5 separate regions of the Homo sapiens genome follow, and all the other regions are linked to region 4. Evidence: promoter capture Hi-C in human tissues and cell types (Jung and others, 2019). All regions are on one chromosome and are shown on one strand. Each heading gives the region's core, a stretch centred on a gene start or on the middle of the fragment in contact. The rest is flanking DNA. Distances are from core to core; before and after follow the strand shown.

Region 1 (4,962 bases), core at 1,988-4,487, 290 kb after region 4:
TTTCCTTTTAGAGACAGGGTCTCACTGTGTTGTTCACTGAAACTTCAAACTCCTGGGCTCAGGCAATCCTCCTGCCTCAGCCTTCCGAGTTGCTGGTGGAATCTGTGAGAAACATGGTGACTCGGTCAATAACCATGCCCCAGGCAGTTGTGGGGGACAGCCTGTATTCCATGGCGGCAACAAAGTTTTCATCTACGGACAGGGCCTCATCATCACCTGCGGCCTTAGCCTGTTCTTCAAAAAGCTGCCACTGCTGCATAGGATCATTTAGATCAGTGTAGGCATTGCTTATCGCTTTCTTTATGACAAATAGCTTAAAGCGCTGGGTCAGACCTTTTGAGTAGTGCCATTTAGCCAAAGGGCTCATTATCTGGGGGTGATCACAGATGAATGTAGAATTGTTGCAAATCACTTCCAGGAACTCCCCCAACAAGCTTGTCAAGGAGCCTGGCTGTGGTCCTAGGTGGAGGGCACGCAATAGCATTTGCACGCAGATATTATCAAGAATTTTGCCAATTGCTTCAGTTTCAAATAGGTTATTTTCTGGCAGCTTCACCCCCAGGGCTTTCTCAAGCTCTTCTATCATGCTGATTCTCCGGAAGGGTAGGGTGAAGTCAATATTGCAGGCTTATCCCTCTGGGACATCTGGGTAGTAGGTGACCTTGTAACTACCTGTATTATGCTTCACCATCCCTGGAACCATCTTCCCCGTGATTTCCGTGAGATTGTGATAGTCTAGGCCATGTAGAACTCAGGGGTGCTGAACTCAGGATTTTACGTCAAATCAATTCCTTCATTCCAGAACTGGAATGCAATTTCATAAACCTGGTCAATGCCACCAACCACTAGCATCTTATGGTAGAGTTCTAGAGTAGTTCATGTGCAGCTTGTTGTGATAAGTGATGAAAGGCTTGGTCATAGCTCCCCTGGGATGACGTTCATTCATGGGAGTTTCAAGCTCTAGGAATCCCAGCTCATCCAAGAAACTTTTTTTTTTTTTTTGAGATGGAGTTTTCTTGTTGCTCAGGCTGGAGTATAGTGGTGCAATCTTGGCTTACTGCAACCTCCACCTCCTGGGTTCAAGTAATTCTGCTTCAGCCTCCTGAGTAGCTAGGATTATAGGCACCTGCCACCACGCCCATCTAATTTTTGTATTTTTAGTAGAGGTGGGGTTTTACCATGTCGTCCAGACTGGTCTCGAACTCCTGACCTCAGGCAATCTGCCTGCCTTGGCCTCCCAAAGTGCTGGGATTACAGGCGTGAGCCACTGCACCTGGCCTAAGAAACTTATTATACATGTGATGATCTTACAGCAGATGATAAATTTCTGCCTCATTCATTCAGGATCAAGTCCAAGTATCTCTGACCATACCTTATTTCCTTGTCTTTGAGGCCAAAGTGAAGATGAGGTAACATATACAAGCAAGGCCACAGCAGTGTGATCTCATAGGGAATGAAGCTCAGCTCATCCTTCTTGGTTTTTCCCAGGATTCCTCTGAATTCCAATTATGTTTCCCCAACGCAGTTTGTTATTAATATGAATAAATTATTCTTCCTGAAATTATAATTCCTGAAATTGGCCATGACTTGCAACTTGACCCCCTCTGCTCAAAGATCATAGAAGTTCATGGCTGGGCACTGTGTCTCACGCCTATAATCCCAGCACTTTGGGAGGCCAAGGCAGGCAGGCAGATCACCTGAGGTTGGGAGTTCGAGATCAGCCTGACCAACATGGAGAAACCTCACCTCTACTAAAAATACAAAATTAGCCGGGCGTGGTGGCGCACGCCTGTAATCCCAGCTACTAGGGAGGCTGAGGCAGGAGAATTGCTTAAACCTAGGGAGGAGGAGGTTGCAGTGAGCTGAGATTGTGCCATTGCATTCCAGCCTGGGCAACAATAGTGAAATTCCATCTCAAAAAAAAAAAAAAAAAGATCATAGAAGTTCAGCTTTCCTCCAAAAGCTTTTTTGGCATGGATCCTATCTGTCACGTTTAAGGTGATATCAGTCAGGAGATCCCCAGTTTGCAGGTGACAATATTCTGGGATGAAGTCAGTGAGGGAGATGTCTACATGGATCTCGTTGGGGTATGGGTCTTTCCCATTGACCTACCTGACTGCAAATCTTTTTTTTTTTTTTTTTTTTTGAGACAGAGTCTCGCTCTGTTGCCCAGGCTGGAGTGCAGTGGCTCAATCTCAGCTCACTGCAACCTCCACCTCCCAGATTCAAGCGATTCTCCTACCTCAGCCTCCCAAGTAGCTGGAATTACAGGCATGTGCCACCATGCCCAGCTAATTTTTGTATTTTTAGTAGAGATGGGGTTTCATCATGTTGGCCAGGCTGGCCTCGAACCCCTGACTTCAAGTGATCTGCCTGCCTCAGCCTCCCAAAGTGCTAGGATTACAGGAGTGAACCACCGGGCCTGGCCTTGGCTGTGGATCTTGTAGTACTGATTTGGGTCCAGGCTCTCCTCCTCAGGACCCACACCATTGTCAGTGGTATGGTTGGTGGCAGCAGCAGTGACCTGGGCTTAGCTGTTTCTCACTGAGCTCTTACTGCTTGGCTGCCTTCTCTGCCACTTTCTTCTCGGCTTTCAGGTATCTCTTCGGCTTGTTCTTGCTCAGTTTTGACTCACCACCATCCACTTTAACCTTGGCCCCTTGTACTGCAGTCATCTTCCCAGAGGGCCTGGACCCAAAATTGTGTTTTTTTTCTTTTTCTTTTTTTTTTGAGATGAAGTCTTGCTCTGTTGCTCAGGCTGGAGTGCAGTGGCGCAATCTCGGCTCGCTGCAACTTCTGCCTCCAGGGTTCAAGGGATTCTCATACCTCATCCTCCAGAGTAACCAGGAATACAGGCACCCACCACCACTCCCAGCTAAATATTCACATTTTTAGTAGCGATGGGGTTTTGTCATGTTGTCCAGGCTGGTCTCGAACTCCGGGCCTCAAGTGATCCTCCCACATCAGCCTCCCAAAGTACTGGAATATAGGCATGAGCCGCTGTGCCTGGCCCTGTTTTTTGTTTTTTTCACGTGGCCGTGTAGTTAAGGAACCAGCCTTATCGTGTGGGTAAGAAAATTGAGCAGCTGGTCAGATGAGGGGTTCCTTCAATCCCTCCACTTCCAGCTGCTGCCTCTAGGAAAGGCCTCAAATTCCTTACCTCAGCTTCCTGGGATTACAGGCGCACGCCACCATGCCTGGCTAATTTTTTTATTTTTAGTAGAGACAGGGGTTTCTCCATGTTGGCCAGGCTGGTCTCAAACTCATGACCTCAAGGGATCTGCCCACCTCAGTCTCCCAGAGTGCTAGGATTACAGGCGTGAGCCACTGTGCCCAGCCTCAAATTCCTTACATCTATCAGTTTGTCCGGGCATCATTTCCTGATCACCCACTGGTGCTGGCCATTTGCTGGGGTGTGCAGTGAGGTGGCTGGATAAGTCTCCAGCTATCACATGTGCTGGCATAAGCACATGGGGGTGGAGGGTGGGCTCTGTAGAGGCCCCCAAGATCCAGGAGCCAGTGCTGACCAAACATCTAGACAACATGTGTGATTTCACATTTAACCTCAAATTCAGACTTGCTGTCTCTTGCTTAACCTTGTCTGCTGATCTCCGAGGGCTATCAGACCTGTTTCTGCAAAAACACAGTGAAGTCACAGCACACCCTGCCCCGGAGCTCTCTAAGCTTCCTGTTTTTATGCAGAAAGCCTGCCCTCCTGTGAAGCTGACCATGTGAGATCTCACTGACTCCGCATCTGGGTGAATCTGAGAAGCTTAGTTAAAAACAACAACACAAAACTTTTTTTTTGAAACTGTATCTCCCTCTGTGGCCTAGGCTGGAGTGCAGTGGTGCCGTCATGGCTCACTGTAGCCTCAAATTCGGGGCTCAGGTGATCCTCTCACCTCAGCTTCCCGAGTAGCAGGGACTACAGGGTGGTGCCACCACACCCAGCTAATTTTTTTTTTTTTTTTGGTAGAGATGGGATTTCACCATGTTGCCAGGCTGGTCTCAAACCCCTGGTCTCAAGTGATCCTCCCACCTTAGCCTCCCACAGTGTTGGGATTACAGGCATGAGCCACTGTGCCCAGACCAAAAAACTTTTTATAGGAAAAATTGCAAATACATGAGAAAGGAGAGAGAAAAGTGTATTAACTCCCATGTAGCCATCACCCAGTTTCAAAGATTACCAACTGATGGCTCATCTTATTTCATTTATGCTCTCACTCACCTCTTTCTACAGATTATTTTAAAGCAAATCATAGACATCTATTTCATCCATTTTTAAGTATGCCTCTCTAAAAGGTAAGGGCTCTTTTTAGGCTGGGCACGTGGCTCTTGCCTGAAATCACAGCACTTTGGAAGCTTGAGGTGGGTGGATCACCTGAGGTCAGGAGTTGGAGACCAGCCTGGCTAACATAGCGAACCCCATCTCTGCTAAAAATACAAAAATTAGCTGGTTGTCGTGGAGGACACCTATAATCCCAGCTACTCAGGAGTCTGAGACAGGAGAACTGCTTGAACCCAGGAGGCAGAGATTGCAGTGAGCTGAGATCATGCCACTGTACTCCAGCCTGGGCAGCAGAGAAAGACTCAGTCTCTAAATAAATAAATAAATAAATGGTAATGGCTGTTTTTAAAAGACAACTATAAGCCAGGTGCACTGGGCCATTCCTGTAGTCCTACTAGCTATTTGGGAGGCTGAAACAGGAGGATTGCTTGAGCCCAGGAGTTTGAGGCCAGCCTGGGCAGCATACTAAAACCCTGTTTCTGAAAAATAAAATAAAATAAATAAATATATAAATAAATGGCAATTACCATACCATTATGACCCTTATAAAAGTTAACAGTACTTTTCTTTTAAAATTTGTAGAGACAGGGTCTTTTTTTTTTGAGACAGAGTCTCCCTCTGTTGCCCAGGCTGGAGCGCAGTGGGGTGATGTCGGCTCACTGCAAACTCCGCCT
Region 2 (4,396 bases), core at 1,858-4,357, 490 kb after region 4:
TTTCCCCTTATTTTTACTAGCATATTATGTATACTAGTTTATACTTTGCATTTCCCATGTAATATAGAATCTTGAGAGATTATTCTATACTGTAACATAAAAGAGCTTCCTTGAAAAGATATTCTTAAAATAGAATATTCCATAAAATATTCTATAAAATACTGCTTTGAATATTTGCACCACTATCTTTTTTTCTTTTTTTTTTTGAGATGGATTCTCGCTCTACTGCCCAGGCTGGAGTACAGTGGCACCATCTCGGCTCACTGCAACCCCCACCTCCCAAATCTATGATCTCTTTCATATTTGCTTACTTTTCTATTAGATTGTTGATCCTTCCTCTTACTGATTTATAGAAGCCCTTTGTTAGGTGCATTAGCTCATTGAGGTATGAGTTGAATGTATCCAGATTTATAAATTTTAAAAGAGGGATTTACAAAAGTCCTCTAAGTCTTGCTTTAAGTTAATGGTTAGAGCTGTGAAAACCTAATTAAGTCATTTCACACAATGTTCTCCCATGAGAAAATCCAAAGTTTGTTTAAAATTCAAAATTTACCATTTTAATCATTTTAAGTGTATAGCTAAGTGGCATTAAATACATTCACAATATTGTATAACCACCACCACTTTCTATTTCCAGAAGTTTTTCATCACCCAAACTACAACTCTATTAAAGTAATAACTACTCATTTCCTTCCCGTCCTCCCAGCCCCTGGTAACCTGTACTCTGCTTTCTGTCTCTATGAATTTCCCTACTCTAGATACTTCATATAAGTGGGATTACACAATGTTTTTCCTTTTTTGTCTGGCTTATTTCACTTAGCATAATGTTTTCAAGGCTCATCCATATTGTAAGCATACGGAGGAATAATCTATTGGAATATTTTTATATAGCATATTATTTACATATAATATTCCATATGGAGGAATAATATTCAATTTTTTGTGTACACCACATCTTGTTTATCCATTCATCTGGTGAAAAATAATTTGGGCCTAGGCACAGTAGCTCACGTCTCTAATCCCAGCACATTGGGAAGCTGAGGTGGGTGGATTGCCTGAGCCCAGAAGATCAGGACCAGCCTGGGCAACATGGCGAGACCCCATGTCTATAAAAAATTTAAAAATTAGTTGGGCGTGGTGGTGTGCGCCTGTAGTTCTAGCTACTCAGGAGGCTGAGATGAGAGGATCACCTGAGCTTAGGAGATGGAGGTTGCAGTGAGCTGAGATTGCACCATGCACTCCAACCCGGGCAACAGAGACCCTGTCTCAAAAAAAGTTGATGAACGCATACATATTAAAAAAAAAAAAAAAAAAAGATGGACAGGGCTCGGTGGCTCACGCCTGTAATCCCAGCACCTGGGAGGCTGAGGCAGGTGGATCACCTCAGGTCAGGAGTTCGAGACCAGCCTGACCAACACGGTGAAACCCCATCTCTACTAAAAATACAAAAATTAGTTGGGCATGGTGGTGGGCGCCTGTAATCTCAGCTACTCGGAAGACTGAGACAGGAGAATCGCTTGAGCCTGGGAGGCAAAGGTTGCAGTGAGCCGAGACCATGCCATTGCACTCCAGCCTAGGCAACAAGAGCAAAACTCCATCTCAAAAAAAAAAAAAAGATAATTTGTATTGTTTCCCTCTCGGCTGTTGGGAATAATGCTGCTGTGAACACTGGCATACATACTGTTTGAGTCCCTCTTTTCAGTACTTTTGTGTGTTTACGTAAGAGTGGAATTGCTGGGTCCTATGGTAATTCTGTGTTCAACTTTCTTTTTGAGATGGAGTCCCACTCTGTCACCCAGGCTGGAGTGCAGTGGTGCGATCTGGGCTCACTGAAGTCTCTGCCTCCTGGGTTGAAGCGATTCTCATGCCTCAGCCTCCTGAGTAGCTGGGATTACAGGCATGTGCCATCACGCCCAGCTAATTTTTGTATTTTTAGTAAAAACGGGGTTTCACCATGTTGGCCACACTGATCTGTCTTCTGACCTCAGGTCACCCACCCTCCTCAGCCTCCCAAAGTGCTGGGATTGCAGGCGTGAGCCACCAAGCCCAGCCTCCATGTTCAACTTTTTGAGGAACCACTATTTTTTTTAATCCTACAGCAGCCACACCATTTTACATTTACAATGTATAAGGCTTTCAGTTTCTTTATACCCTTGCCAACACATGTTATTTTCCATTTTTAAAATAATAGCCATCCTACTGGGTATTAAGTTATATTCATTATAATTTTGATTTGCATTTCCCTATTGACTAATGGTGTTGAGCATCTTTTCATGTGCCTGTTGTCCATTTGTATATTTTCTTGTCTATCCAAATCCTTTATTTTATTTATTTATTTATTTTTGAGACGGAATCTGGCTGTGTCACCCAAGCTGGAGTGTAGTGGCATGACCTTGGCTCACTGCAGCCTCCACCTCCCAAGTTCAAGCGATTCTCCTGCCTCAGCCTCCTGAGTAGCTGGGTTTACAGGCTCACACCACCACGCCTGGCTAATTTTTTGTATTTTTATTAGAGATGGGGTTTCTCCATATTAGTCAGGCTGGTCTCAAACTCCTGACCTCAGGTGAGCCACCCGCCTTAGCCTCCCAAAGTGCAGGGTTATAGGCATGAGCCACCATGCCCGGTCTAGTTTTCAATGTAGAAATCTTATGCCTCTTTGGTTAATTCCTAAGTATTTTATTCTTTTTGATGCCACTGTAAATAGAATTGTTTTTCTTAAGATTGGGCACAGCGGCTCACACTTGTAATCCCAGCACTTTGGGAGGCTGAGGCAGGCTGATCACCTGAGTTCAGGAGTTCAAGACCAACCTGGCTAACGTGGGCCCACCTGGCCAACATGGGGAAACTCTGTCTCTACTAAAAATACAAAAATTAGCTGGGTGTGGTGGCATATGCCTGTAATCCCAGCTATTTGTGGGACTGAGGCAGGAGAATCGCTTGAACCTGGGAGACAGAAGTTGGAGTGAACCAAGATTATGCCACTGCACTCCAGCCTGAGACTCCGTCTCAAAAACAAACCAAAAAAAAAAACCCCAAAACAAGAATTGTTTTCTTAATTTTTTTTGGACCTTTCATTCCAAGTATATAGAAGTACAACTGAATATTGTGTGTTGATTCTATATTCTGCCACTTTGGTGACTTTATTTGTTAGTGCTAACATTTTTTTGTCTGTGTGGATTCTTTAGAGTTTTATGTTTATACTATCATGCCATTCGTGAATAGAGATAATTTTCTCTCTTCCTTTTTAATTTGGATGGGCTTTATGTATTTATTTATTTTTCTAACCTAATTGCTCTGGCTAGAACTTCTAGTGGTAGGCTAGTAGAAGTGGTGAAAGAGTGGGCATCTTTGCTTTGTTTGTGATCTTAGGGGGAAAGCTTTTGTTCTTTGTTGATAATGATAGGAACTAACAGTTTTTCATATATGGCCTTTTTCATATTGAGGAAATTCCTTCTATTCTTTGTTTATTGAATGTTTTCATCTTGAAAGAGCATTGAATTTTGATAAATGAGTTGGGCACGGTGGCTCACGCCTGTGATACCAGCACTTTGGGAGGCTGAGGCGGGCAGATAGCTAGAACCCAGGAGGTGGAGGCTGCAGTGAGCCGTGATTGGGATGCTACTGCACTCCAGCCTGGGCAACAGAGTGAGACCGTCTCAAAGAAAAAGAGTTCTTTCCCTGCCACTGCTGAGTTGAGTGGAGGCAGAGGCTTGGGTGCATTCAAGATTCAGCTTCACCCGTAGACCACCACCATGGCCACGGAAGGTGTTGCTGCTGGAGGTGTGGTGGCTGTTAATACTGCTTTACAAGAGGTGTTGAAGACTGTCCTCACCCATGATGGCCTAGCACGTGGAATTTGCAAAGCTGCTGAAGGGTCAGGCCCATCTTTTGTGTGTTTGCATCCAACTGTGATGAGCCTATGTCAAGTTCATAGAGGTTCTTTGTGCTGAACACCAAATCAACCTACTTAAGGTTGATGACAAGAAGCTAGGGGGAATGGTTAGGTCTCTGTAAAATTGACAGAGAGGGGAAACCCCGTAAAGTGGTTCGTTGCAGTTGTGTAGTAGTTGAAGTACTTCAAATGCAAGAAATGAACGAATAAAACTCTGGCTAACCCCCCTGCCCCCCAACACACACACAGACACACACACACACACACTCACAGTCACACTCACTCTGGGCATGTTGGCTCAATCCTGTAGTCCTAGCACTTTGGGAGGCCGAGGTGGGCAGATTGCTCGAGCCCAAGAGTTCAAGACCAGCCTGGGCAACATGAAATCCCATCTCTGCTAAAAATACAAAAAATGGCCAGGTGCAGTGGCTCGCGCCTGTAATCCCAGCACTTTGGGAGGCCGAGGTGGGCGGATCACGAGGTCGGGACATTGAGACCATCCTG
Region 3 (5,011 bases), core at 537-3,036, 350 kb after region 4:
GGAGAGACAGTGAGTGGTCCTCAAATTCTTCAGTGAATTGGGTCTGAACAGAGGGTGCAGTCTTTGCCCAGAGCAGAGTTCCACCCTCCTCTTCAGTCCTAGGGTTCATACCTGCCTAGGAGTGCCTGTGGCTGCCATGGTATGTGAGTGTTTCCATGGCTGTGCAAGCTAGGATGGTAAGATGCCCTGAGGTCTGCGTCCAGAGCTGGGCAGCCTTTGTCCTATTTCCTGTTCAATGCTGCAGCCCTCACTCCCTGGTTCTGGTGTCCTGCTGGGCAAGTTGGTGACCACCAGCTCTCCAATGGTCTGGGATAGCTCCATGGCAAGGGAGGGCTTGCCCCAGCCCAGGTCAGCTATCCAGCTTTTTGGCCAGCTGGCAAGTCTGGCCAAGAAGACGTGCTGAACAGTGCTGAGCTTGCTCACTGGGTGAAAGGTGATATTATCATTCCTGCTGAGCCATCTCTTGGCAGCTCCTCAAGAGGGTGTGCTATCACAGAGAAAGGGAGCGGCTTTCAAGCATAGGCAGGGCTGCTTCTGGTCCAGCCAGGTGCCTTCTTCCCAGACAAGCTGAGTCAAGGACTTGCCACCAGCCGGGGCGCCCCGACTTACTTCCCACTTTGTCCTGAGCGTGCCGTGGCACTTTCCCAGCCACTGAAGTCATAGGCCCACGTGGAGTTACTAGAGCAGCATAGGGGGTGGGGGATGGGAGGGTGTCCTGGAGGGCTGGGGAAGGCCACCTTCACCCAATACTGCTCTCCTGCCCTACCTCTAGCCAGCCGACTTCCACTGGGTGTCCCAGGCAGTCAGTCATCTTGCCTCCCTGAGCCTTCATTTCACGGTCTGTGGAGTGATGGTGACAGTTGCACCTCACACTTGTATAGATAAATGTAGTCATGAGTAACCCATGTGAACTAAATGATGCTGTGTTTTACCCACGTAGGGGGAAGTTAGAGGCTATTCAAGATGTGGGAAGGGAAGGTGCCCATTCTGGTTAGAAGGAATAGAAGAATCTCACCCCTTTCCTGGCACTGGACCTGCCATGCCAGAATTTGGTGTGTTTCCCCTCCCTTCCCTGGAAGATACTTGGCAGTAGGTCCTCTGTGGTGGCTGAAGCAGGAAGGGGCTCCCGCACTTCGAGACCTCAGTCAGGCTGTCCAGGAGAATGTGTTTCTGACCGTGGTCCTTGGCTGTGACCCTCAAGCTTTGTACCACTAGCTGGAAGAGTAGATGACCAAGGTCGAAGTGGCTTTTTAATTTATTTTTATTTTTATTTTTAATTTTAGATAGGGTCTCAGTCTGTTGCCCAGGCTGGAGTGCAGTGGCATGATCATAGCTCACTACAGCCACAACTCCTGGGTGCAAGCAATCCTCTTGCCTTAGCCTCCCTAGTAGCTATGGCTACAGGTGTGTGCCAACATGCCTGGCTAATTTTCTTTTTCTTTTTTTTTTTTTTTTTGAGACAGAGTTTTGCTGTTGTCGCCCAGGCTGGAGTGCAGTGGCACGATCTTGGCTCACCGCAACCTTCGCCTCCAGGGTTCAAGCGATTCTCTTGCCTCAGCCTCCCGAGTAGCTGGGATTACAGGCACCCGCCACCACGCCCAGCTAATTTTGTATTTTTAGTAGAGACGGGGCTTCACCATGTTGGTCAGGCTGGTCTTGAACTCCTGACCTCAGGTGATCCGCCCGCCTTGGCCTCCCAAGGTGCTGTGATTACAGGCGTGAGCCACCGTGCCCAGCCGATAATTTTCTTTTTTTTAATTTTTGTAGAGTTGAGTCTTACGTTGCCCAGGCTGCTCTTGAACTCCTAGCCTCAAGCAGTCCTCCTGCATTGGCCTCTCAGAGTGCTGGGATTACAGATGTGAGCCACTGCTCCTGGCCAGTGGTGGTTCTTCTTATGGGGGTCACATTGCCTTGGCTACACATACATCTCTGGTGCCTTCTTGGAGCTCCTTTCCCTGCCATCAGAGCATAGCCCAGGCCTTAGAGCCTGCCTGGGCATCAGGCAAGTCATTTCTTTTCTCAGGCGGTGCAGTATGACAACCACTACACCAACACCAAGTACTGCTTGTGCCAGATGCTACGAGAACAGCTGGAGTCGCCCCAGGGAAGGTTGCTCCATGCTGCCCAGTCTTCCCGGGAAATTTGGTAAGAGGCACAATAAGATGTCCATCTGTCCTTGTACGCATTGCCCAAGTTTGACTTTGAGCCCTAAGCTGACTCCACCAGGGGACCAGGGACACAGCTTCTGGATGTAGATGTAGAGGAGTGGAGTGATGGTACAGCTTTGCCTCCCAGGAGGGGATTCTTTGAAAGCTTTGAAACGTCCCATCCCTGGACGGATCAGCAGAGCTCTGGGAACTAGGGTACTAGAAGGATAGAGGAATGCAAAGGAAGGGGATTTTCCATAAATGGGATAGTCACAGGCCAGGCCCCCAGGAACCAGTGGTCAGGAGAATTGGGCTGTAGCATGGAGCCTCTACCTTGAGCCTGCACTCACATCCATCACCCTGCAGTTTGAGAGACCACCTGTTGATTCTCTAGATCAGGTGCAGCTCTAGCTCAGATGGTTGACAGTTGAGGCCCTTCACAAGCTGGCCTAGCCACTGCCCCCACAGCTCCCTGTCTACCTGTCTGCTTCCAGAACTCCACACCTGTGCTTGTAATGGGTCGTCTGCCTGGAAGGCTCTCTCCCTCTCACGTGAGCTATCTGTAGCCTCCCTCTTACATAGATGCCTTTCTGAACCACTTTTGCCATTGGGGATCTATCTTCGTTTGAGTCTTCCAGCCTTCAAGATGTTTCCTAGAAGGGAAAAACCTTTGCCAGAGCCCTCTTCCCACCCTTGGCTTATGGCATTGGTTCAGTCCCTACCCCACATAACTCTGTAGCTCTGGGTGGTGCCTCAGTGTCAGCTGAGACCCATGTATAACTGCCTGTGGCTGGGCGGGAAGTGGGGAACCACTTAGTGGTCAGGCCTCTGTCTCTTCCTCCCATGGGCCCATGTGCTTGATCAGCATTGGTTAACTCAGTCACGGCTGGCTGGGGATACCATCTGTGTGCTTCCCCTCAGGAGAGAGGCTGCAGGTGGTGGGGGTGACCTTTACAACCTTTGCCACCCAGCCCAGCCTCCCTCCAGTGTCCACGCTTGGGTTCACATTCACTTTCCATCTTCCAGTCCACAGTAATCCCAGGGCTGGGCAGGGGGCACATTCTGATGGCCAGGCCCCGGTGGTGTTTTGGTGTATGTGGTAGAGGAGTTTCTCAGTGGTGGGGCCCTGGGGTCCTGCAGTACCCTGGATGCTGGCTCCGCTAAAGTGTTTGCTCTGATCTGCTTCTTCCTCCCTAGTGAGGCCTTTGGCCTTGGTGCCTTCTATGAGGAGACCACACAGGAGCTGGATGCCCAGCAGGCCAGGCTCTCAGCCAAGACTTCAGAGCAGACAGGGGAGCCAGCTGAAGATACCTCTGGTGTCATTAAGATGGCTGTCAAGTTTGACCGGTAGGTCTCCAGCTTGGCCTCAGCTTGGGCTAGGGCCAGCACCCTTGGGGTCCCACTGGGCCAGCACACTGGCTGCTGTATGTGCTTAATGTCAAACGTAGGGACCACAGGTCTTGTTGGTTTGGAAACTCGTTCTAAATTTTCAGCATCCCATAGAAGGTGCTTTCAGGGGAGATAGTCCCTGAAAGGCTGTCCCAAGGATAACTGAACTCTACTTTTTCCCTGATTTACCGCCTCCCACAACTCAGGGCAGGGGGGACTTGTCTCCTGTTCCTGAAAGTCTGTGCTTTTCCAAGGCCCTGAGGAACTGGCTCCTGGCATGAAGCTCCTCAAACAACAGCAGGACCCTAGCCCTCATTTGGCTCTGCAGCCCCTACCCACACCCAGTGCCCCTCACCAGCTCTGTGGTGCTCTCTCAAGCTGCTTACGCCTCAGATTGTGACTCAGCTTTGAATGGTGCCCTCCTCTGGGATCTGAGCCTTTCTCCAGTCCCCAGGACCAGACAGGAGCCAGTCTTGTCTGGCAGAGGTGTGGAGAGGGGGAGCAGGGTGGTGGGGAATAGCTGTTGGGCAGTCAGATGCCAGGGAGAGTTCCAGTTGGGAAGTTGGAATATGACCCCTCCCACCCTGTCACTGTGTCACCCTGTCACAGGCTGACTCTGAAACCAGATTCCAAGTGTCCATGGCTGCAGCAGATGATCATGACACTTGGCAGGCGGAATCAGGATGGGCGCTGAGCTAGATCCCCGAGACCATTGTCTGGCTACCTCCATTGCCCACCTCCACCCACTCCCTACTAATCTTGTCTTGAGTGGCAAGCTTCCTTCTTGGATGTTGAACATTGTTTTTCCAGTCTGGACCTCAGAGTACTGGGAGTTCATTCCCCCTTCCCTTACAATTTCTTGAGCATGCCAAAATTCATCTTCCCTTTAGGGAGAACCCAGGTCCAAGCTGCTGGTAGGACAAGAATGGGAGCCTAGGGGAGCAAGTACAGAAGCCTTAAGGCAGCAGCTCGGTGTCTCAGTTCCTCTCATTTCTGCAGCTCCTTTCAGGAGCTGAGTAGTGCCCTGGCTGAGGGAGGGAGCGGTGATGGTGGGTGACCCCAACTGCTTCCCTTCCTTTCCCCAGGAGAGCATACCCAGCCCAGATCACCCCTAAGATGTGCCTACTAGAGTGGTGCCGGAGGGAGAAGTTGGCACAGCCTGTGTATGAAACGGTGAGTTCCTGGCTGTGGCCTGCCCTGCAGCCAGTCACAGCACTCCCATGGCTTACACCCTCAACTCTAGATTGCCAGGCTGGAGCCTGGCCTTGACCTCTGTAGGCATGGAGAAGCTGCTGGTGGCCAGGTCAGTTGCTGATAGCCCTCCCCTCTTACAGTGGCCTGTTGTCCAGTTCAGCCAGACATCTCTCTTTTTTTTTTTTTTGAAACAGAGTCTAATTTTTATTTTTTATTTTTTAGAAATGTGGTCTCAGCCGGGCACGGTGGCTCATGCCTGTAATCCCACAACTTTGGGAGGC
Region 4 (4,877 bases), core at 1,112-3,611:
GGCGCGATCTCGACTCACTGCAAATTTTGCCTCCCAGGTTCAAGCGATTCTCCTGCCTCAGCCTCCCAAGTAGCTGGGATTACAGGCGTGCACCACCATGCCCCGATAATTTTGTATTTTTAGTAGAGACGGGGTTTCATTATGTTGGTGAGGCTGGTCTCAAACTCCTGACCTCAGGTGATCCACCCACCTTGGTCTCTCAAAGTGCTAGGATTACAGGCATGAGCTACTGCGCCCGGCCCAAAGCTTTCTTCTTTAAACTGATTTCACCTGTTAACATTATTATACTTCCAATGTATCTTCTTATAAGGGCAAGGGGAAAAACCTGCTGCAAAGTCAAATGTAAATAGAAAATTAGTTTTTATCAAGCTAGGGACAAACTGACTTTGATGATTAGAATCAGGGACCATCTTTTAAAAATCACATAGTTCTAATTTTTAAGTTTTGGGTCAGAGGAGGCTTTCTAAAAAATTGCTAGTTCTACTACCAATGTGTTCTAGTATTACTATAGAAATCAGATAGCAATTGCCCTAGCAAATAAAAATAATAATGAGGGCTGGGTGTGGTGGCTCACACCTGTTATCCCAGCACTTTGGGAGGCCAAGGCAGGCAGATCATCTGAGGTCAGGAGTTCAAGACCAGCCTGGCCAACATGGTGAAACCCCTTCTCTACTAAACATACAAAAATTAGCTGGGCGTGGTGGTACATGCCTGTAGTCCCAGCTACTCAGGAGGTTGAGGCCAGAGAATCGCTTGAACCTGGGAGGCGGAGATTGCAGTGAGCCGAGATCGCACCACTGCACTCCAGTCTGGGTGACAGAGTGAGACTCCGTCTCGATAGATAGATAGATAGATAGATAGAGAATTAGACCCAGACCAATGATTATTCCATGGCAAAGTGGGAAAACCAGGTGGTAAGAGATAACCTCTCACAACAGAATCTTTATCTGTGAAATAAGGATTCGACCAACAGAACCGTCTGTTGAAAATTTCCTCTCTTGGTCCAGGCAGGTTCTCTAAACTCCCAATCCCAAAGCAGTTAATTTTTTCACGTTTCCTGTAAAATGGATGGCCTTAAAACTCTTTTGTTCTCTAGTGTAGCTTTCCAGAAGGAAATAAGTTTCCTTATCAAGAATGAATCTAGCTTCCCCGACTCAAAAACAACCATCTTCTCTATATTGCTCCATATCACAATAAATTTAAGTGCCTTCCTTTTCTAAATTAAATGCTGTTCCCTTCAACTTAAGGGCCACACACTAAGGGCTATTCCTTTAGAGGCTTTTGGGCCCCACAGATCACAAAGGTGGTGCCCTGCCCTAGTTCTTTCTGGACATTTAAAAGGACATCCACTTTCTTGCCCTCAGGATAACATTATGGGAACAATGAACATAAATAAGACAGTTAAATAAGCTTCCCTGATGCCTATCCAATACAGCTTTCAACTCTTCTATCCTGCCTTGTTCTTTAGATCGTGCTGTAGTCTGGAGGGTAAACTCTTCACACAACCATTCCCAAGCCCTCATGTCCCTGTCCACTCTTCCTCCCTCACCTTTTAAGTGTGATAGGGCCTTGATGGGAAGACCTCACTTCACCTTTTGTCTCAAGTCCATCTGCTTCCTTCCAGAGCTACAAATACAAAGGTAGGCCAGGGCCATTGAGACGTGGCCATAGGGCACATGGGAGCTGGCAGAGCCACTCGCACCTTCTGGGGTGTCCCTTCTTCCACCTGTCAACTGAACACCCGTTTCTTAAAGATTTATCCCCAAAAGTCCCATCTCATTCTGAAAGGGGACGAACCAGCTACCCCACGAGCCCTTTGTCTGAGCTTCTACACCTCACACATCCTCATCCACAAAGCGTCCATCCTCACACAGTCAGGTGGTCCGCTCGGCACAGGGCGGGGGAGACTAGGTTTTTGCATCTGGTAAAAGGATGGGTTATGTCTCAGGTTCTTCCAGGATCCCAAATCCTATAATTCTACCACCAAGCCTGCGGGTCCTATTTCTGCGGTGGAAAGGGCGAATCCCAAGGCGACCCTCCACTCCACGCGCCTGCAGGCAGTTGGAACAAGCCCCCTCCAACCCCGGCTCTGCGGGTCCACGCCTCCAACCTCCGGCGCCGGGCCGCGGAGAAGGCCCTGTCGGCGCCCGCTCCCGGCCGCGCCATGCCCTCTTTCGCCCTCACCCGCCACCGGTGGCCGCCTCTCACCTGGCACGCTGGCATCGCCCACTCCGCGCTGCACTGGAAACCATGGGTCCGACGGGGTCTCGGGGGCCACCCATCCGCCTTAAGGAAGGCTGGCGGGGATGCGCGGGCCCGGGAGTCCAGGGCGCCGCCACCGGGAACGCGCCGCCTGGTTTCTAAGGAACTGGGGGCTCTGGAAAGGGAGGGGCGGGACGGCAGGAGGACTGCGCATGCTCCATAACGGGGATGGGCCTGCGCTGGGAGGGGCCGTAGCCGGGAGCTGCGCATGCTCGCTTTTTGGGGGCGGAGCTTAAGCAGCCTGGCTAGGAGGCTCAGGTTATTCATTTCCGGCGGCGGAGGCGGCAGTTTCCTAAGCTTGGCTTCTCTCCGGTCCGCTGACCGGCGTCAGGGACCAGGTTTTGGTAGCTGTGGGTAGCCTCAGTTGTCCTGGAATGAAAGACGGTTTCGTGTTGGACAAGGACATATCTGCAGAAGGCCAGTTCTCTCGAACTCGTCGGACTTCCTGGCTCCCTGACCCCCAGTGACTCGTTTTTCCGTTTTCTCAGGTGCCTGTCTGGGCTCCTCTTCCTCTGGATGTTTTTTGATTGTTCCTTAAATATCAGTGCTCTTCAAGACTGTAACCTCAGTCCCCTTGGCCTCTTTACTGAAGCCTATGCCCCACCAAATAGCAAACTATCCGCTAGAGTAAGGAAGCCGTTAGACCTTAGAATAAAACTGCCTGTGTAGGAAATGTGATTGGGGTTTGTATCTGCATGGGGAGCCCCCGTCCCTGCTTGTCTGACCCTCCTGCTGAGTATCAAGATCCCCACTCAGCTGGCATTAGGATGATCTCCCAGCCATCATTCCAGAGCAGCCTGTGGTGACAGAATATGTCAGCTGACCTAAGCGTGAGGCAGTTCCTACTGAGATATGCTAACTAGCAGCAGAGCTATCCCTGCTTTGAGCGGAGACAGGACTCCTACCACCTCTGTGAGGAGCATGGAAGGCTTCCAAAGTGATGAGAAGTTGTAACCCCTAAACCCCCCCTCTTCTGATGGGATTTTATCCTTTCTCTCCTGGATCCTCTAGAGCCAGGCAGAAGGAAGGCAGAGTCAAAATGTGCCTGTTTGATCTGTTTCTTAGTCATTGTTCGGAGTTCCACTCTTCTTGAGTAGGATTTCTCAACAGTGGCACTATTGACATTTTGGACCTGATAATTCTTTGTTGGGCAGGGGTGGGGGGAGCTGTCTGCATTGTAGGATGTTTGGCAGCATCCCTGGCTCTACCCAGTAGATGCCAGTAGCACCCCAAGCCCAGTTGTGACTACCAAAAATATCTCCAGACATTGCCAAGTGTCTCCCTGGGAGCAAAATCATTCCCAGTTGAGAACCACTAGTCTAGGGGGAAATGAGCCTACTCTGGCTTTACTTATATAGAACCAGGACTTTATGCTTAATCTAAAACCCATATTTTCCCCTTTATGCTACCTCTTCCCTAAGAGCATTCTATAGAGTAATAGTCCTGTAAGATTCTGCTGAGTGACACAGTCTGTAGTAACTTAAGTTTGGAAAGTGCAGGGTTAAGCAACACATTTTAACACAGGATTGAGCTTTTAATTAGCTGGTGGCGATCACTGTGAACATCCATAAGACAGTTTTCCTAATTTACTGGACCACCTCCCAATTCCAGTGACTTTTTTACTGGCAAACCTCCCCTAATTTACTGGCAAACCTCCCAATTCCAGTGACTTTTAGCCACTGCCTGCCCCCTTCTGTTCTGTGTTATTTTGTGGTACTATTATCCATCCCATCACCCCCAACCAAAGTCTGCATTTGCCTTGTCTCTTGCTTCTCCTATTTCCCTCACATTCAGTTATTCATCTTGTACCTCCAATTCTCTCCTAAATCTTTCTCAAACCTGCCCTCTTTGCAGCCTCCTACCTGGGTTCTTTTGCTCCAATTTGTCTCCAGTACCACCTTCAGGTGGACACCAGCATGATCTACCGTATCCCTCCTCTGCATAAAACCCTGGTGCCTCGGGGACAGGGCAGGCAGGAGTGGGCCAGTCACACCACTGGGCATCCTCATGGAGGAAGGATGCTCATGTGTACTGTGTGTATCCCTGTGTGCCAAACACTGCTGTATATCTGCCATAATCCTCTACCTCCACGGGGCAGAAGGATTTACCATGTTTTAAGGATGGGGAAACAGTCTCGGAGAAAGAGGTTAACTTTCCATGTTAACACAGTAAACGGTGCGAGGATTTTGAAACAAGCTCTTGCTCCTCAGGCAAGAGACAGGAAGCTAATTTCAATACCCGTCAGGCTGGGTGCCGTGGCTCACGCCTGTAATCCTAGTACTTTGGGAGGCCAAGGCAGGAGGATTGCTTGAGACCAGGAGTTCGAGACCAGCCTGGCCAACATGGTGAAACTTCTCTATAAAATATACAAAACTTAGCCAGGCATGGTGACACATACCTGTAGTTTTAGCAACTTGGGAGGCTGAGGTGGGAGGATCACTTGAGCCTGGGAGGTTGAGGTAGCAGTGAGCCATAATCATGCTACTGCACTCCAGCCTGGGAGAGAGAGCAAGACTTTGTCTCAAAAAAAAAAAAAAAAAAAAAAAACCCAAAAACAAACTCTCAAAAGAGGTACCCCCAGAAAACTTTCTGACTGTGCAGTATTTGAGGCGAGC
Region 5 (4,794 bases), core at 1,255-3,754, 280 kb before region 4:
GGCAGAGACAGCTGCCAACCCCTCCCATGGCTTGGTGGTACCTTTCACAGTCCCTCTAGGGGTCTGTCCCCAGCCACCTCCTTCCCTGTGGCCAGCCAAGCTGGATATGTCAAAAATCCCACAGCCTGCCCCAGTGGGGCCCTGCACTTCCTATTTGTGGGGGAACCAACCAACCAGGTATTGGGCTCCATGCCCTGCTACCCACCCAATTGCTTAGCCAATCTGTACCAATCCCAGGAGAGGCTGATCCCAGGGTCAGGGAGGCTGGTGGGACTCTCCTCTGGAGGCTAGGGCAGCTAAAGAAACTGGCAAGATCCCAGCAACCCCGGTACCAAAGTCACCTTCCCACCCCCGCCCTGTCCCCTGGAGTCTGCCAATCCACGGCTGCTGCACCAGCTGCCTACTGTTCCCACCTGCTGGGTGGTTGAGGGTCCGCCTAATCTCCCATCTGTGGTCACCGGGCTGGGACATCGCCTGACAGGCTGGCAGTCCTGGCACAAGGCCCACAGCATTGGGTCTGTGTTTATGAGCTAGTGCCTGGGCAGCCCTCGCCGGCGACTCCAGCTAGAACCAGTCAGGCCCGGTGAGGGCATGGGTGAGGCTGGCGGACAGCCGCACCCCTCACCCTGTCTCAGGGCAGGCAACCCGGCAACAGGCCAGCTAGGCGCGTGCGTACACACACACACACAAACACACACGTGTGTATGCTCTCTCTCCTCTCAGCTAACTGGCTGGCCTGTGCCCTATTAGCGGAGTGGGTGAGAGCACTCACTTTTGCAAACAAGCTGAGCCAGGTGTGATCCCTGGCGCTGCCAGTGACTTATTATGTGGCTTTAGGCAACCCACCCTACTTCTCTGAGCCTTCGGTTTCCCCATTTTCACATGGGGATAATGACACCTTCCTAGTTCCTAGCGCAGTCTGAAGGATTAAAGAAGCTGACGACCTTCCCACCTCTGGTTTCAGGCCCTCTAATCTGCTCTCCACATTGTGGCTAGAAGGGGCTTTCTGAGAAGACTCTGCTCTGTTGGAAACCTCTACTGGCTGACCCTGCCCACGGGACTATGTTCAAACTTCTGGCCTTACATTCAAAGCCCTGGGTAACTTGATCCCATGCCTGCCTTTTCTTCTAGACTTCTCCCCTGTCCATCTGGAATGTGTCCTTCCACAGCAAACTGCCTGCCACTTGGCCCATGCTCTATGCTTTCCTTCTGCACGTGCTGGTCCCTTGCCGACACCACTGCAACCTCCAGGCAGGCCCTTCCCCTACCACCAACCCTCACTGTGCTCTGGCCCAGGCCCCTGCAGGGAGATTGGCAGGCCTGGGCTCAGGCTGCAGCCAAATGTCAGCCAGCTCGCTCCAACCAGGGCAGGAGAGGACTCTCACCCAATAGACAGGTGAGGTCAGCAGGTCCCTCGGCCAGGGCCATCCTCAGCCCTGCTTTGGGGCCTGCCCACTGCGGATCCATGTTCCTGACTGCAGCCCATCTGGGGTCCTGGCGCTATAGCTCAGTGCCTCACCGCAGCCAGAGCAGAGTCTATCCCAGACACCCCTAACCTAACTGGTCTCGGGCTTTTTTTTTTTTTTTTTAAATTTTTAAACTTTCCTCTCCTCTCCGGTCCCCTGGCTCTTTAATCTCTTTGGGCCAGGGTAGTGCTGACCCAGAAATCCTCAGGGGTTGCCCAGTCTATGCTACAGCCTGGTGGGAGGCAAGAGGTGGGCAGGGGATGAGGACAGTGGGAAGTGGCACTGACTCCAAGCTTGGGAACCTACGAGGGACATGAGGACCTAGCTATGCCTCGCCAGATCCCTCCCCCCACCATAAGTGAGCACACTGTTGCCTTTGCTCAAGTGCCTGTCCTTGCTGGCAATAGCTTAGGTAGGGCGGTTCCAGGGGCCACGGCCTGGGTGGTAGTCCATGACCCTCCTGGATGCTGGGGGAGCGGCTGTCCAGGAGCCAGCTGTAACAGGCCAGCGGTGGAGCACCAGCCACTCCTGCTGATTTTATCTGAGCCCGTCACAGGCACTATGGGATGGAGAACCTGTTCCACACAGCCTTGTGCCCAGCATGGGAGCCAGAGAATAAGCAGTAAGTCCCTGGGATAGGAGCCTGACATAGCTGCATCCTGTCCCAGCACCTCACATAAATCACCACCCTACCACTTCCCACAGCCCCACCCACCGACAGGCCAATCCCCCATGGCTTGTGTGGGGCATTACCTTGTAGAGGGTGTTGCGGATGATCTCGATGTTCATCTCGTCAAGGTCCTGCTCTGAAATGCAGTCCTGGAAAAAAGCCGCTGGGGAGGAAACATGGTTTGAGGGGTGGGCAGGTGGCCTAGGCCAGAATCCTGATGTTCAAATGCCCTACACGGCACAGAGTGCCCGTGCCACAAGGCCCACAGGGCTGGGTATTGAGGGGTCCCCAGCCTAGGCTGTTGCCTTGGAAGTGGCAGAAGCAATGCTCTGGGCCATGTACACTGACCTGAGCTTCTCCTGCCTCCTTGCTCCTAAAATTGATTTATAAAGGAGGCAGCTAGCCATAACATGATCTAATCACCGCTGGGGCAGACCCAAGCTCAGACCATGCCAAAGACAGGCTTGCATAAGAGGCCATGACATCCTCCCTTCTGGAGGGGCAGCTGTGGATTCGGGGCCTAACGCCTACTTCTCTACACCTCCCAGGAAGGCCTGGCGTCCACATTTGGAAAACCAGCCTCCTCCTTAGGACAAGTCCAACAGCAGGGTAGGCACAGACCAGCGACCCAGGGGGCCACTGTGGGGTTGGAAAGAGAGGCCAGAGCAGGATAGAGCACCCCCATCCCCCAAGAGGGCCTGCAGACTCACTGGTCTATCTCTTCATTAAAGATGGAGAAACTGAAGAAGCCACAAACAGCCCAGAACCAGCTCAGAGTTGCTGGGAGAGCCTACGGCAGACAAGGTCAGCAGGTAGGGCTCAGGCCTCTTAGCTCAGAACCCAGTGCAGCTTAGAGCCCTGTAGTTCAACCCTGGTGGCTTCTTAGAGGTGGTACCCCAGGCCCAGGACTCTGGCTACAAGGACACTTAATGCCTTCTCCTCGGCCTCCTAAGCAGGCAGGAACTAGCACTGCCTAAGCAGGGCTCTGCAGGAAGCTCTTGATTCCCCTTCCCTGGCTTCTGATACGGACCTTGCATCCTGCTGGATGCTGTCTGACCTGGCCCAGGGGACCTGCTCGGTGGAGGGAAGTGGCAGTGTTTGCTTCGCTCCTTGCCTCACAGGCAGCCACTCTGGCTTTACTCAGGCTCCAGCTCCGGGCCACAGTCTGTCAGAGCTCTCGGGACTCCAAGGGACTTGGGCCTCTCTCACTCTTCTCCATGAGCTCAGCCCTCCTCTGCACTCTGGGAGATCAGACTGCTTCACAAAGTGAGACAGTCCCAGTCAGGCCCTGGGTAGCCTGCCTGGCCCAGCAAAAGCAACAGGACAGGAGCAGAAGAGGGGTGAAGTGAGGAGAGAATCGGAGGAGGAAGTTGAAGGGAGACAAAGGTAAGCAGCAGTGGGCAGGTCTCACTTTCTGGCTCAGGGTCGCCCCCCAGCGGGTCCACAAACCCCACCCTGATGCGCTGATGCTGACACCACTGCCCACCTCCCATGACCACCACAGCGGCTCACCAAGAGGCGTGTCCACCAGAATGGCATTGTAGAGCTCAGCAGGTGTCTGAGCAATGTTCACGGCCTCCATCTGCTCGAAGCTGCCTAGTGGGTGGCACTTGGGCACGAGCTCAGCGATGGAGCGCTGGTGCAGCGTGCCTGTGATGAGCAGGATCACGTTGTCGATCATGTAACTGTAACTACAGGGGGCAGGCAATAGCAAGGAGCCCATCAAGGTGGGGGCCGGGAAGTCCTGGCATAGCACCATGCCCTCGCCCGCCTGCACAGGCCATCACCCCTTAACAATGTATGCTGACTCATGGGTGCTGCGGATAAGCACCAGTGTCTCCTCTCCCTCCCCATGTTCCTCTCAAGCTTCTGACCACCCCCACTGCCAGAGGCCTAGGACAGACACAGGCCCCCCAAACGGGCGGGGGCAGGGGATTCATGCCCTGTGAGGGACTGGGACACGAGCTAACTACCCCACAGCATGAACAGTGTTCTAACAGGACACAGGAATGGGGCACAGGAGGTGAGACATGCAGCCCAGCCCAGGGGGTGAAGAGCGTGAGAGCCTGGGAAATTAAAGGGCTGGGAGAAGAAAGTGTGTTCTGGGAAGAGGGAACAGCATGTGCAAAGGCCTGGAGGCACTCACTGAGTGACGGATGCATTGGAGGAACTGGCATGGTCAGGACTGGCAGAGGGAGAGAAAGGCGCAGCAGCCGGCAGCACGGGGCTGCAGCAGGCGGGGGGCAGAGGCTGGGCCTGGAGGGCCCTGGCTTTGTTTTGAGCACTAGGGATCTATGAGCAGGGTGTAAGCAGGGGAATCGCCATCCAGTTAGGGTCACTCTGTCCCCCAGTGGGGACAGAAGAGGAAGAGGCAGAGATAGCGACAGGAGGAAAGGCTGAGGAGTGGAGTGGAGAGAAGCTTCTCCAGGGAAGGCCAGCAAGGAGCCAGTGGGGGTTCTCTGGAATGAAGGCCCAGGTCAGGCAGACCTGCACAGCCTATGCCAGAGATAGAGAACTGTCCTCTTCTTTTAGGGCCTGAGGCCAGGGCTGGGCATTCACCCAGGACGGCCTGGATAAGACCCAGAGACCTGAACAGGAGGCTGGGTCAGGTCGATCCCAGGCCGAGGCTCCCATCACTCTGCCCTGCAGAAGGCCAGC

What was found. Contacts are between HindIII fragments. The study calls those that stand out against the background at their distance.
Region 1: a fragment that was not itself captured here is called in contact with the fragment with the promoter of GFOD2 in region 4 in 2 of the 25 tissues and cell types used here (bladder and hippocampus).
Region 2: a fragment that was not itself captured here is called in contact with the fragment with the promoter of GFOD2 in region 4 in 1 of the 25 tissues and cell types used here (mesenchymal stem cells).
Region 3: a contact is called between a fragment that was not itself captured here and the fragment with the promoter of GFOD2 in region 4, in 2 of the 25 tissues and cell types used here (hippocampus and lymphoblastoid cells).
Region 5: a contact is called between a fragment that was not itself captured here and the fragment with the promoter of GFOD2 in region 4, in 1 of the 25 tissues and cell types used here (mesenchymal stem cells).

What each region holds. Positions count from the first base shown.
Region 1 is chr16:68,002,335-68,007,296 of GRCh38, forward strand. It overlaps the pseudogene KARS1P3. Among named protein-coding and RNA genes, the nearest start is that of DPEP2, 5.3 kb to the left of the region's middle. RefSeq lists an enhancer at 4,252-4,962. The HindIII fragment of the contact is 4,078 bases long and covers 1,199-4,962 here.
Region 2 is chr16:68,205,710-68,210,105 of GRCh38, forward strand. All of the region lies in intron 9 of NFATC3 (nuclear factor of activated T cells 3), which reads left to right. It also overlaps the pseudogene RPS12P27. Among named protein-coding and RNA genes, the nearest start is that of MIR6773, 26 kb to the right of the region's middle. The HindIII fragment of the contact is 3,682 bases long and covers 1,267-4,396 here.
Region 3 is chr16:68,072,011-68,077,021 of GRCh38, forward strand. DUS2 (dihydrouridine synthase 2) reads left to right here. Exons shown (of 17, transcript NM_017803.5): 13 at 2,024-2,145; 14 at 3,345-3,494; 15 at 4,622-4,709. Among named protein-coding and RNA genes, the nearest start is that of NFATC3, 11 kb to the right of the region's middle. RefSeq lists an enhancer at 3,312-3,421. The HindIII fragment of the contact is 3,051 bases long and covers 262-3,312 here.
Region 4 is chr16:67,716,955-67,721,831 of GRCh38, forward strand. It overlaps GFOD2 (Gfo/Idh/MocA-like oxidoreductase domain containing 2), which reads right to left and starts at 2,362. Exons shown (of 3, transcript NM_030819.4): 1 at 2,209-2,362. RefSeq lists an enhancer at 1,680-1,759 and silencers at 2,120-2,169, 2,230-2,279. The HindIII fragment of the contact is 6,116 bases long and covers 829-4,877 here.
Region 5 is chr16:67,440,880-67,445,673 of GRCh38, forward strand. ATP6V0D1 (ATPase H+ transporting V0 subunit d1) reads right to left here. Exons shown (of 8, transcript NM_004691.5): 3 at 3,649-3,827; 4 at 2,220-2,299. Among named protein-coding and RNA genes, the nearest start is that of HSD11B2, 12 kb to the left of the region's middle. RefSeq lists enhancers at 2,631-3,254, 3,879-4,502. The HindIII fragment of the contact is 3,547 bases long and covers 732-4,278 here.